Regions from separate parts of the Homo sapiens genome. Here region 2 is linked to region 1. Evidence: promoter capture Hi-C in 16 types of primary human blood cells and fetal thymus (Javierre and others, 2016). All regions are on one chromosome and are shown on one strand. The core of a region is centred on a gene start or on the middle of the fragment in contact, and the rest is flanking DNA. Distances in the headings are between cores, read along the strand shown. Region 1 holds the start of LRATD2 (LRAT domain containing 2). Region 2 overlaps WASHC5 (WASH complex subunit 5).

What was found. Contacts are between HindIII fragments. The CHiCAGO score rates a contact against its expected background, and 5 or more counts as called.
Region 2: a contact is called between a fragment that was not itself captured here and the fragment with the promoter of LRATD2 in region 1, in 1 of 17 cell types (fetal thymus). The highest score is 5.1, in fetal thymus.

Annotation. Positions count from the first base shown.
Region 1 is chr8:126,555,828-126,560,172 of GRCh38, forward strand. LRATD2 (LRAT domain containing 2) reads right to left here and starts at 2,651. Exons shown (of 2, transcript NM_174911.5): 1 at 2,207-2,651; 2 at 1-1,658. The coding sequence starts at 1,562. The coding sequence ends at 630. LOC105375751 (a long non-coding RNA gene) reads left to right here and starts at 2,049. Exons shown (of 6, transcript NR_188069.1): 1 at 2,049-2,104. RefSeq lists silencers at 596-715, 2,604-2,783 and enhancers at 926-1,075, 2,053-2,889. The HindIII fragment of the contact is 2,746 bases long and covers 1,934-4,345 here.
Region 2 is chr8:125,085,218-125,090,021 of GRCh38, forward strand. The region is part of intron 1 of WASHC5 (WASH complex subunit 5); the gene reads right to left. Among named protein-coding and RNA genes, the nearest start is that of WASHC5, 4.2 kb to the right of the region's middle. The HindIII fragment of the contact is 4,323 bases long and covers 1-3,565 here.

The sequences.
Region 1 (4,345 bases), core at 1,401-3,900:
TTGCTTAACTATTTGTTACACTTAATAGGAGGCTGCTGTGGTTTTGGTCTGCTGCTCCCGGACCTTGTCATGGATTCACCAGCCCTGCGCTCCAGGAATCCCATAAAATAAATCACCCCAGCCTCCTGGATCCCATACACAGCTCAGCTCCGCCAAAGCAGACAAGCAGCTTTCGTGCTGGTCCCGCAGTGGCGACTCCACAAACCCACTCTGGCCTTTCTACCAGGATTCTTCCAAGCCCAGGATAGGAAGCAACGGCAGGAATGGGTACTCCGAACTTTCCCCCAACCCCACGTGCTTAAGAATGGCCGATTATAAACCCAGATCTACCAAGGTTTAAGTGCCAGGCAAGTCCACAGTTTGCTCCACCGCGGAGAGGAAGACAGACAGGGGGCCAGAGGGAGACGCCCCCCACCCCCAACTAAAGTGTTTCCTACCTGCTCCCTCTGTCCCCTTCCTCCTCCCCCGTCCACAGCCGGCTGCGCATTTCACCAACTCTTTTCCAAAGGGCCCAGGAATCCCAGATGGGGCCCAGACAGTGGCAAAAGAGGGAGGAAGAGAGGGAGAAAGGGAGCAGCGGCTGCTACTGCAAACAGTTCCCCTTCGCAGCTCTGCGCTCAGCTCGCCCATCAGTGTGCCACTGCCTCTCCGTCCTCCTCCTCGGAGCTGGGCGCAGGGGGGCGCCCGGGAGGCGGCGTAGTCCGCGCCACGTTGCTGTCGCCCTCCTCCGGCTCCGCCGGGTGCAGGTGCGTGGCGAGCTCCTGCAGCACGGCCGCGCGCCCGATCTGGTCGTTGCGTCGCTTCTCCATGATCAGGTCCTCTAGACTCTGGAACTCGAGCGTGTGGCTGCGCTGCGCCGACAGCTGAATCTGCAGCCGGTAGGGCTGCTTGCCGATGCGCAGCTCGCCGCCGATCTTGAACTCGCGCTTGCCGTAGCGGCACCAGGCGGCGAAACTCTCCGAGTTGCGCCAGCTCAGCTCGCGCTCCTTGGCACCCACGTGCGCCAGCGCGTTGCGCACCACGGCGCTGGAGCTTAGCGGCTTGTAGCGGTACAGATCGTTGACCACGCGGCCGCGACGGCCCTGGCTGGCGTCAGTCAGGAAGCTGTTAATCACCTCCAGCCGGTGCAGGTGCACCACCTGGAAGTTACCCACATATACGGCCCAGTGCGGGTACTGAGCCTGCGACACGAACTCCACCAGATCGCCCGGCTTGCACTTGTTGAGCAGGTTCTCGGGCGTGTAGGTACTCAGCGCCGCCGAGCCCGGCGCGAAGCTCTTCTGGTAGATGCATTCGTCCCGGTAGAACACGGAGCATTCCACCTCGTGCAGCCGCGGATCGTAGGGCTGCGGCTGGGGCGGCGGCGGCCCGTCCCCACCGTCGGGCAAGCCGCCGCCATCTGGCCCCTGAGGCGGCGGCTGCGGCTCCACGTCCTCATCGTCATTGGAGAAAATGTAGGAGACCCCAATGCGGGGCCCGTCGTCCCGGTCCACGCCAGTCGGGTCGGCCGTGGGAACTTCCTTGTAACTTAGGTGGGTCAATTTCTCCACCTGGTTGCCCATCACGCTGCGGACACACGTTCACACCGCCGCAAGGGGAGAAAGCGAAACCAACTCCAGGGTCATTTGCACAGGTCCCCGGACAGGGGCTGAGGCTACCTGTTGGGAGAGGAAGGCAAGAAAGCCATGCAGGAGCCCCTCCGTGAAAAGGGCGTTTTGTTCCGAAAAAGAATCGGTGGGGGCTCAGCACCTGGAGCCATTTTAGGGGGAAGTCTCGGGTGTAGCGAGCTTTCCCTCGTTTCTCCACCTGTAAGGTCACGGTCACAGGAGACTGGGCAACTCCTGTTCTCCCTGTCCCCAGCCCTTCGCCTGGCCCTGGCAAAAGCCCATTGCATCAGCAGCTTCTACTGCTTCCGCCTGCGCCCTACCTGCCAAGCTTGGGCAGGAAGAGGGAAGGAAAGAGAAACTTTACGCCAATCCCCCCCCTCCTCTGCTAACTTCCCCTCCCACCCTCGGGCCCTAACTAGCCCCGGGGACGCCTCCTCCCCACCAACGCATCCATCCCCAGAGGAACAAGCGAGGATCTCAGAGCGCGACCTGGACAGGTGAGTCACCCTACCTGGCTCACCTGCAGCGCTACCTCCTCCCGGCTCGCCCGCCCTTCCCCCGCGCCCGCCCTCAGGCTCGGGTTACCTGCACAAACTCACCCGCGGAGAGGTGAAGGCCGTGGGGCCTGGGGAAGGGCTCCCTGCCGCGCCCCGAGACTTCTAGGGCGAGTTTGAAGGTGTAGGCTCGGCAGTCCCTCCTCTCCCGGCGCGGGCGGCAGCGAGGCTGGGCAGAGGGCAGCGCAGCGGGCAGACTAGGGGCATGTCTTTCCCCCGCGGCTGCGTAGCGCCCCGATACTTGAAGGCGGGGGGCAATCCCTGTTCACACCGCGCTTCCTCCCGCCAGCTGGGGCTGCTGCCCCTCCTCAGCCAGCTCTCGGGGGAGGTGGGGCGCGAGGAGGAGAGGACGGCAGCCTCGCAGCCTGGCGGCAACAGCTCCCGCTTGGGCCGGGCGAGCAACAAGCACCGGAGCTGGAGGGACGGGATTGTAGATCCGGCTCCGGGCTCCCGGGCGGGAGCGCAGCCCGTGGCATTTAAAGAGACAGGCGCTCACTCCCCGAGCTCGGGTCTTTTTCACATTGCGCCGAGCGGCCGGGAGCCCCGCCCCCGCCCCGCCCACTCGGGCCTCGGGACTCCGCCCGGCCACGCCCCCGCGCCGGAGCGGGTTTAAATCCCCCTGTAAATAATCCACCCGCCGCCTGGGGCTGGTGCTGTGAGCTCTGCTTGCCTTCCGAGACAAGTTAGAAGGCAAACACAACTTGCCAGTGTGGAAATGAGAAAGGGAAGGAGAGTTTGGTGTTTGCGCCTTTTCCCTTTGACCTGTTTTTTCCCAGAGTACCTGGAGAAGGAGGAACAGTCGTTTCTTTTCTTTCCTGGAACATATTTCTTGCCCTAAAGGTCACAAGAAAGGATTCTTCACCAGGACAGCTCGAAGAGTGCGTCATCCTAGAGGTGTTTTCAGAGTTAGTAGTGGGAAACTTTGGGGTAGAAAAGAAAATCGCAGAAAAGAAACAGTATAAAACAGAACGAAGACTTATTCACTGACTGGGTCCCAAGACCACCGCTCTGTTTATTAGATACCCCTGGAAGTTAGTACAAAGTTCATAACCTCCGTTATTTCCAGAGAGGTACCAGTTCGTTGGATAGTGAGAGAAGCGTGCAGCTCTGACTGCTTTTTTTTGGGGGGGTGGGGGGTTAGGGGATGTAGGAATTGCCTAATTCCTACATCCTAATTCTAATTGTCCTTAAATTAGAAACAAATTAGCAGAGGCCCTAGTGGATATATTTCCTTCCTGTTGACTTAGGGAAGTGACAGGAGACCAGTAATGCCTACTAACCTCCACCACAAAAGGACACTTCCACCTCTCCACTGGTTTCGTTTCTTTTACCTAAATGTAGGCTACCAAAGTGTTTTTTTTGTTGTTGTTGTTGTTTATTTTTTTAAAATAATGGGTCCGGTGAGGGTGGAGGATTAACAGCTCTGTTTACAATAAACAAGTTTAGGCACTACTGCAAGCACCCAGACTTATTCGTAGGGGACTTAAGAATGCGATTCAAGACCTATATTCTGTCTTCAGTTGCTTTCTTTTGACTAATTTTTTCCAGCATGTATAACCAGCCAGTGGAAACAGGAATATACTAGCACTACTGTGATCCTTTCTAGTTTAGGAGAAAAAAATAAAAATCATTCTACTTATGTAATTTTGAGTCCAAACAATCAATATTGGCAGGGCTGTGATAGAAATTAGTCCTTCAGCAAGTCTGAAGTATAAGTTAGATCAACATGAGACTACTGTGTGCTGTGCGATTCTGTTTCAATAATTTCAGACTGGCTGGCCTCAGGCGCATGTGACTGAATGAATCCAACACACCCCAGTCCTTTTGATAGCAAATGGTGTGGGGGGCTGCTGTTACCTGAGTGATATTTGTTGCCATCATATGATCACCATATTATAGACAAGAGTTAGGCTTATAGAGATTATGGCTGGTCATCCTATGTTCATCAGATTGGGAGACCTCTGCTACTGCCTGATTTGGGAGGCCACTTTGCTCCTAGGTGCTACTGGGATGGCTGGGAATGGGAGAATTGAACTGAGAGGACACAGTTGTAGGACAATTTGCTACCAGCACTCTAGGTCAGAGATCTGGTGGGTGAGGAAGCAATGCCTAGCTGACTAGGTGTGTCTCCTTTTGTCTTGATGAGCTGTTCTCAGGTGCACAATAGTGGCTCAACAACATATC
Region 2 (4,804 bases), core at 154-2,653, 1.5 Mb before region 1:
TTTAATTGTCAGTATGGAGCATTTATTAGGTGTTCTGTTGGGAAAGGTATTCTTATACTGGGTGATCTTTAGTAAAGTGACATCTAGGAATTCGGGGCTAGAGAAAGAAACCTAGCATCTAAAAAGAATGACCTATTTTAGTATGTAACACTTAAAAACTTTTCCATGGTAAATGACTTAGAAGATGGATTTGAAATCCAAAGGGCAGACACAGGGTTGATTTCTAAAACATGCAAAGGGATCTCACAAGCTGTCAAAGAGAGAACAGAGAGAGAAGCGGAGGCAGAAGCCAAGTAACAAGGAAAAGGGAAAAAAAGATGTCACTAGGAATGAAAACCAACCAACCAACAAAACATACATGTGATGTTTTCCTGTACACATAAGTCTTTGAGCATGTCACTACCCAGGTTGTGCCTTCTAAGCATCTTCTGTAACACAGAGACTCTCGATAAAACTGCTTCCTGACCCATCCCTTTCCTTCCCACTAGCTTCCTCCTACAGCCAGTGCAGATAGCAGGGGTGAGCAGATGGTAGAAGGCGAAGGGCAACTGGAGAAGGAAGCGAGAAAGACTTACACAAATGAAATAACTCCTCGGACTTGATGAGGTTTCAGAAAGTTCTTGAAGTAGGTAATTTGTCTCATTACGCTACTCCTTCTTACATTCCCCTCTGCCCACAGACTTGAGTACCCCTTCTTGTTCAGGCCTGTGTGCCTTCCCCTGCAACAATCATTTTTCTTAGTTCTAGGGGCTTGGAAAGCAATCTGATTATAATAATGTGGTAACTGGTTGCCAAAGATGGCTCCCAACAATTCCTTGCCATGAAGTCAGCCCATACAGCACCTTAAGTGAAGGGCTGAACCTTATTTTCCCTCTCAATGAGTCTGGATTGCATTTTATTAGTTTGCTGGGCTGCCGTAACAAAGCACCACAGAGAGGGTGACTTAAACAACCACATTTATTTTGTCACAATTCTGGAGGCGAGAACTTCAAGATCAAGGTGTTGGTAGGACTGTTTTCTTCTCAGGCTTCTCTCACTGGCTTGTAGCCAGCTATTTTCCTCCTGTGTCTTCGCATGGCCACCCCATTGCTCATTTCTTTGTATAGAGATGGGAGTCTCACTATGTAGCCCAGGGGAGTCTCAAACTCCTGGGCTCAAGCAATCCTCCCATCTCAGCCTCCCAAAGTGCTGAGATTACAGGCATGAGCTACCAAGCCTGGCCCTCCTTTGTAAATTTCTGTGTCCAAATTTCCTCTTCATACAAAGATACCAGTCATATTGGATTAGGGCCTATCCTAGTGGCTTCATTTTAACTTAACCACCGCCTTAAAAATCCTGTCTCCAAATATAGTCACATTCTGAGCTACTGAGTGTTAGGAATTCAACATATAAATTTTGGGGGGACCCAACTCAGCTCATAACAGCTTGTGCCTTCCTTCCTTCAACCCAAAGAATACTGTAGAATTAACTCTCTACCAATTCCAGGCCTAAGCCTTGAGAAGGCCTGGCAGTATCTCCTTTTGCTCTCTTTGGGTGTCCGAAGCTGCCATGTAAGATGTCTGGGTATCTTGCTAGAGAGATCACAGGAGTTACAAAGAGGAAAGACCATGCTGAGAGGGAAAAGTCCTGACACAGAAGAGAATGAAGAAAGCCAGCAGACAGCAGAAACTGAAGTGCCGACGTGTGACTTGGGTTGACCTGGTCCACTCAGCCCCCAGCTCTTTAAGTCTTCCTAGCTGAAGTGCTAGACATATAAGGGATGAGGCTATTCGGCTTCTGCAGCCAGCAAAGCCCTCTGTGCCTTTTCCCAATTCCTAATGCACAGGATCATGATAAATTTTTAACATATTGTATTGTTTTGGGCAAATAAGTCTTGGGGTAGTTTGCCATAGTGCTGAGATTCAGTTTTGAGGACTAACAGTACAAGTTGTCAATTTAAACAGCATGCTGATGCTGTTATTGTGATATTTCATTTTCTATAATGCTGTGCAATATAGTCATTGCTTTTGTATAATAATGTCCATGTAGCTATTTCTGTATTGTACTACTGCATTTTCCTCCAATCCCCATCTTTTCAGTTCTCTGCTTCCGCTGATTATTGCAATTTCCTTACAGGAATTGTGCCATTTGTCTTATCTTTGGAAAAAGAGAGCTATGTCCTAAAAACCACTAGAAGTCGGTGAGGGAACAACAAGTAGGTGAGGGAACAATCTTTAGAAATGTTTTTAGGCCTGGCAACGGTGGCTCACACCTGTAATCCTAGTACTTTAGAAGGCCAAGGTAGGAGGAATGCTTGAGCTCAAGAGTTCAAGACCAGTCTGGGCAACAATAGCGAGACCTTGTCTCTACTAAAAATCAAAAGAATATCAGTCAGGTATGGTGGTGCGAGCCTGTAGTCCCAGTGACAAGGGAGGCTGAGGTGGGAGGATTGCTTGAGCCCTGGAGGTTGAGGCTGCAGTGAGCCATGATCGTGCCACTGCACTCTTGCCTGGGTGACAATGAGACCCTCTCTCAAAAAAAAAAAAAAAAAAAAATTTTCTCACATGTCAAGTATAGGAGATTCTTGCTATTAAGAATAGTTCATATCTGAAAAATGCTAGAGTGATTACAAAATACAGAAAAATGTTTCATAAAAAGGAGAAGAAAAAGTTTTGATTACAAATGTATCTTGAAATTTGTGAAAATGAGCTTTATATATTAGGCTGTGATAAGTGCCGTGAAGAAAAAACATAATAAAGGATGGGGCATATGCTAGTTTCCATAGAGCACCTCGGGCAGAAGTCAGAAGGAAATGAGAGAGCAAGCAGTATGGATATCTGGGTATGGTCAGCAGCTTTCTAAAGTGGTCCCTAATGATCTCTGCCTCCTGGTATTCATGTTCTATGTAGGTTCCTTCCCTTGAGTATAAGCTGACTTACTGACTCCCTCCTAAAGAGGAGAATAGGGCCAGGTGTGGTGACTCACTCCTGTAATTCCAGCACTTTGAGAGGCTGAGGCACATGGATCACCTGAGGTTAGGAGAGCCGGGATCACCCCGGCTCTACTAAAAATACAAAAATTAGCCAGGCATGGTGGCAAAAACCTGTAATCCCAGCTACTCGGGAGGCTGAGGCAGGAGAATTGCTTAAACCCAGGAGGCGGAGGTTGCAGTGAACCGAGATTGCACCACTGCACTCCAGCCTGGGTGACAGAGTGAGACTTCATCTCAAAAAAAAAAAAGGGGGAGGGGGGGAAGGAAATAGGATAGAAACAAAAGATACAGTGCACTTCTGAGATTAGATTTCGAAAAGACTAACTTCTGGCTTGGGCACCCTCTGTAGCTTGCTAGTCCAGGGGAAGCAACATATCATGGTGTGAGAGAGCCCTGGGGAGAAGCCCATATGACAAGGAACTGAGGCTTGCCAAAAACCACCTGAGTGAACTTGAAAGTAGATCCCTTATAATCCCAGTCCAGCCTTCAGATAAGACCATAGCTCCTTGTTCCCAGCCTGACTGCAATGTTCTAAAAGCCCCAGAGCCAAAGGCAGCCAGCTATGCCCTACCCTCCGGACCATAGATGCTATAAAGCTTATTGTCTTAAGCCACTGGGTTCTGGCATAGTTTATTATGCAGCAATAGATAATGATCCTAATAATGGCATCCCAAGCAGAGGTTACAAGTAAGTGCAAAGGCCCCAGGGCAGGAATGTGCTAGATGGCTAGCAAGGTGGCTAAAGTGGCTGGAGCAGAGTCAGCTAGGGGCGGAAACAGAAGAAGTAGACTGGATTGGATCTGAGAGCCAAGAAGCCACTACAGCTGTCTAGAACTCCCATGAAGGTACCCTGTAATACACATTAAGGCATACATTATTAACAAGTTCTTTTAGTTTCCTCTGTGATACTTGCTTGTTAAACCACACTGATCTCTAACAGGCTGAATTTCAGATAATTTCATTTCATTTTCTGCATGGATATGGTCTGGCTTGGGAAAGCAGAGAGGGAAAGGGGAAATAATGGACAGTGGGCAAAACAGTCACATACTAAAGCCCTCTGAAGACCACCAAACTAACCCAGAAGGTCTAAGTAGGATGAAACTTTACACCAGGAGTGTCCAATCTTTTGGCTTCCCTGGGCAATATTGGAAGAAGAATTGTCTTGAGCCACACATAAAATACACTAACACCAAAAATAGCTGATGACCTTAAAAAAAATCGCAAAAAAATCTCATAATGTTTTAAGCAAGTTTACAAATTTGTATTGGGGCACATTCAAAGCCATTCTGGGCCGCATGTGGCCTGCAGGCCTCAGGCTACACAAGCTTGCTCTAGACTCATGAAGAGGAGGACAAGCTATGATTAACAGGTCCAATGGCTACCCGATTTGGGATACCATGACAGGGCAACAATGTGGCCCTGGGAAAAACAACTTAAAGCAAAGTAACATTACTTGCCCTTTACTCTACTCTCTCCCAACATACAGAAGGACAGACAGACTCAGCACCTGCATGCACACATTCGGGGAAGCTTCAGTCTGGGATAACGACAGAGATCAAGACTTTCGTGTGTCAATCTCTTGTTTTAATCCTTAGTCCCTTACTCAAGAATTACGCTGTAGACAACTTTAAAAGAACATGAGGAGGATAATAATAACCAAATATGTTCGGCAATAGTAAAACAAATATTATGGGTCTTTATTACCTAGGTAAATCACCTTTCTAAAATTCTATATATAAACTTTATATTAAATTTTTAATGCAAAAGCATATGAGTTATATTTAATATACTTTTACTGAAATGAACTCACTGCTTGTAATCTGTTTTGCCCCAT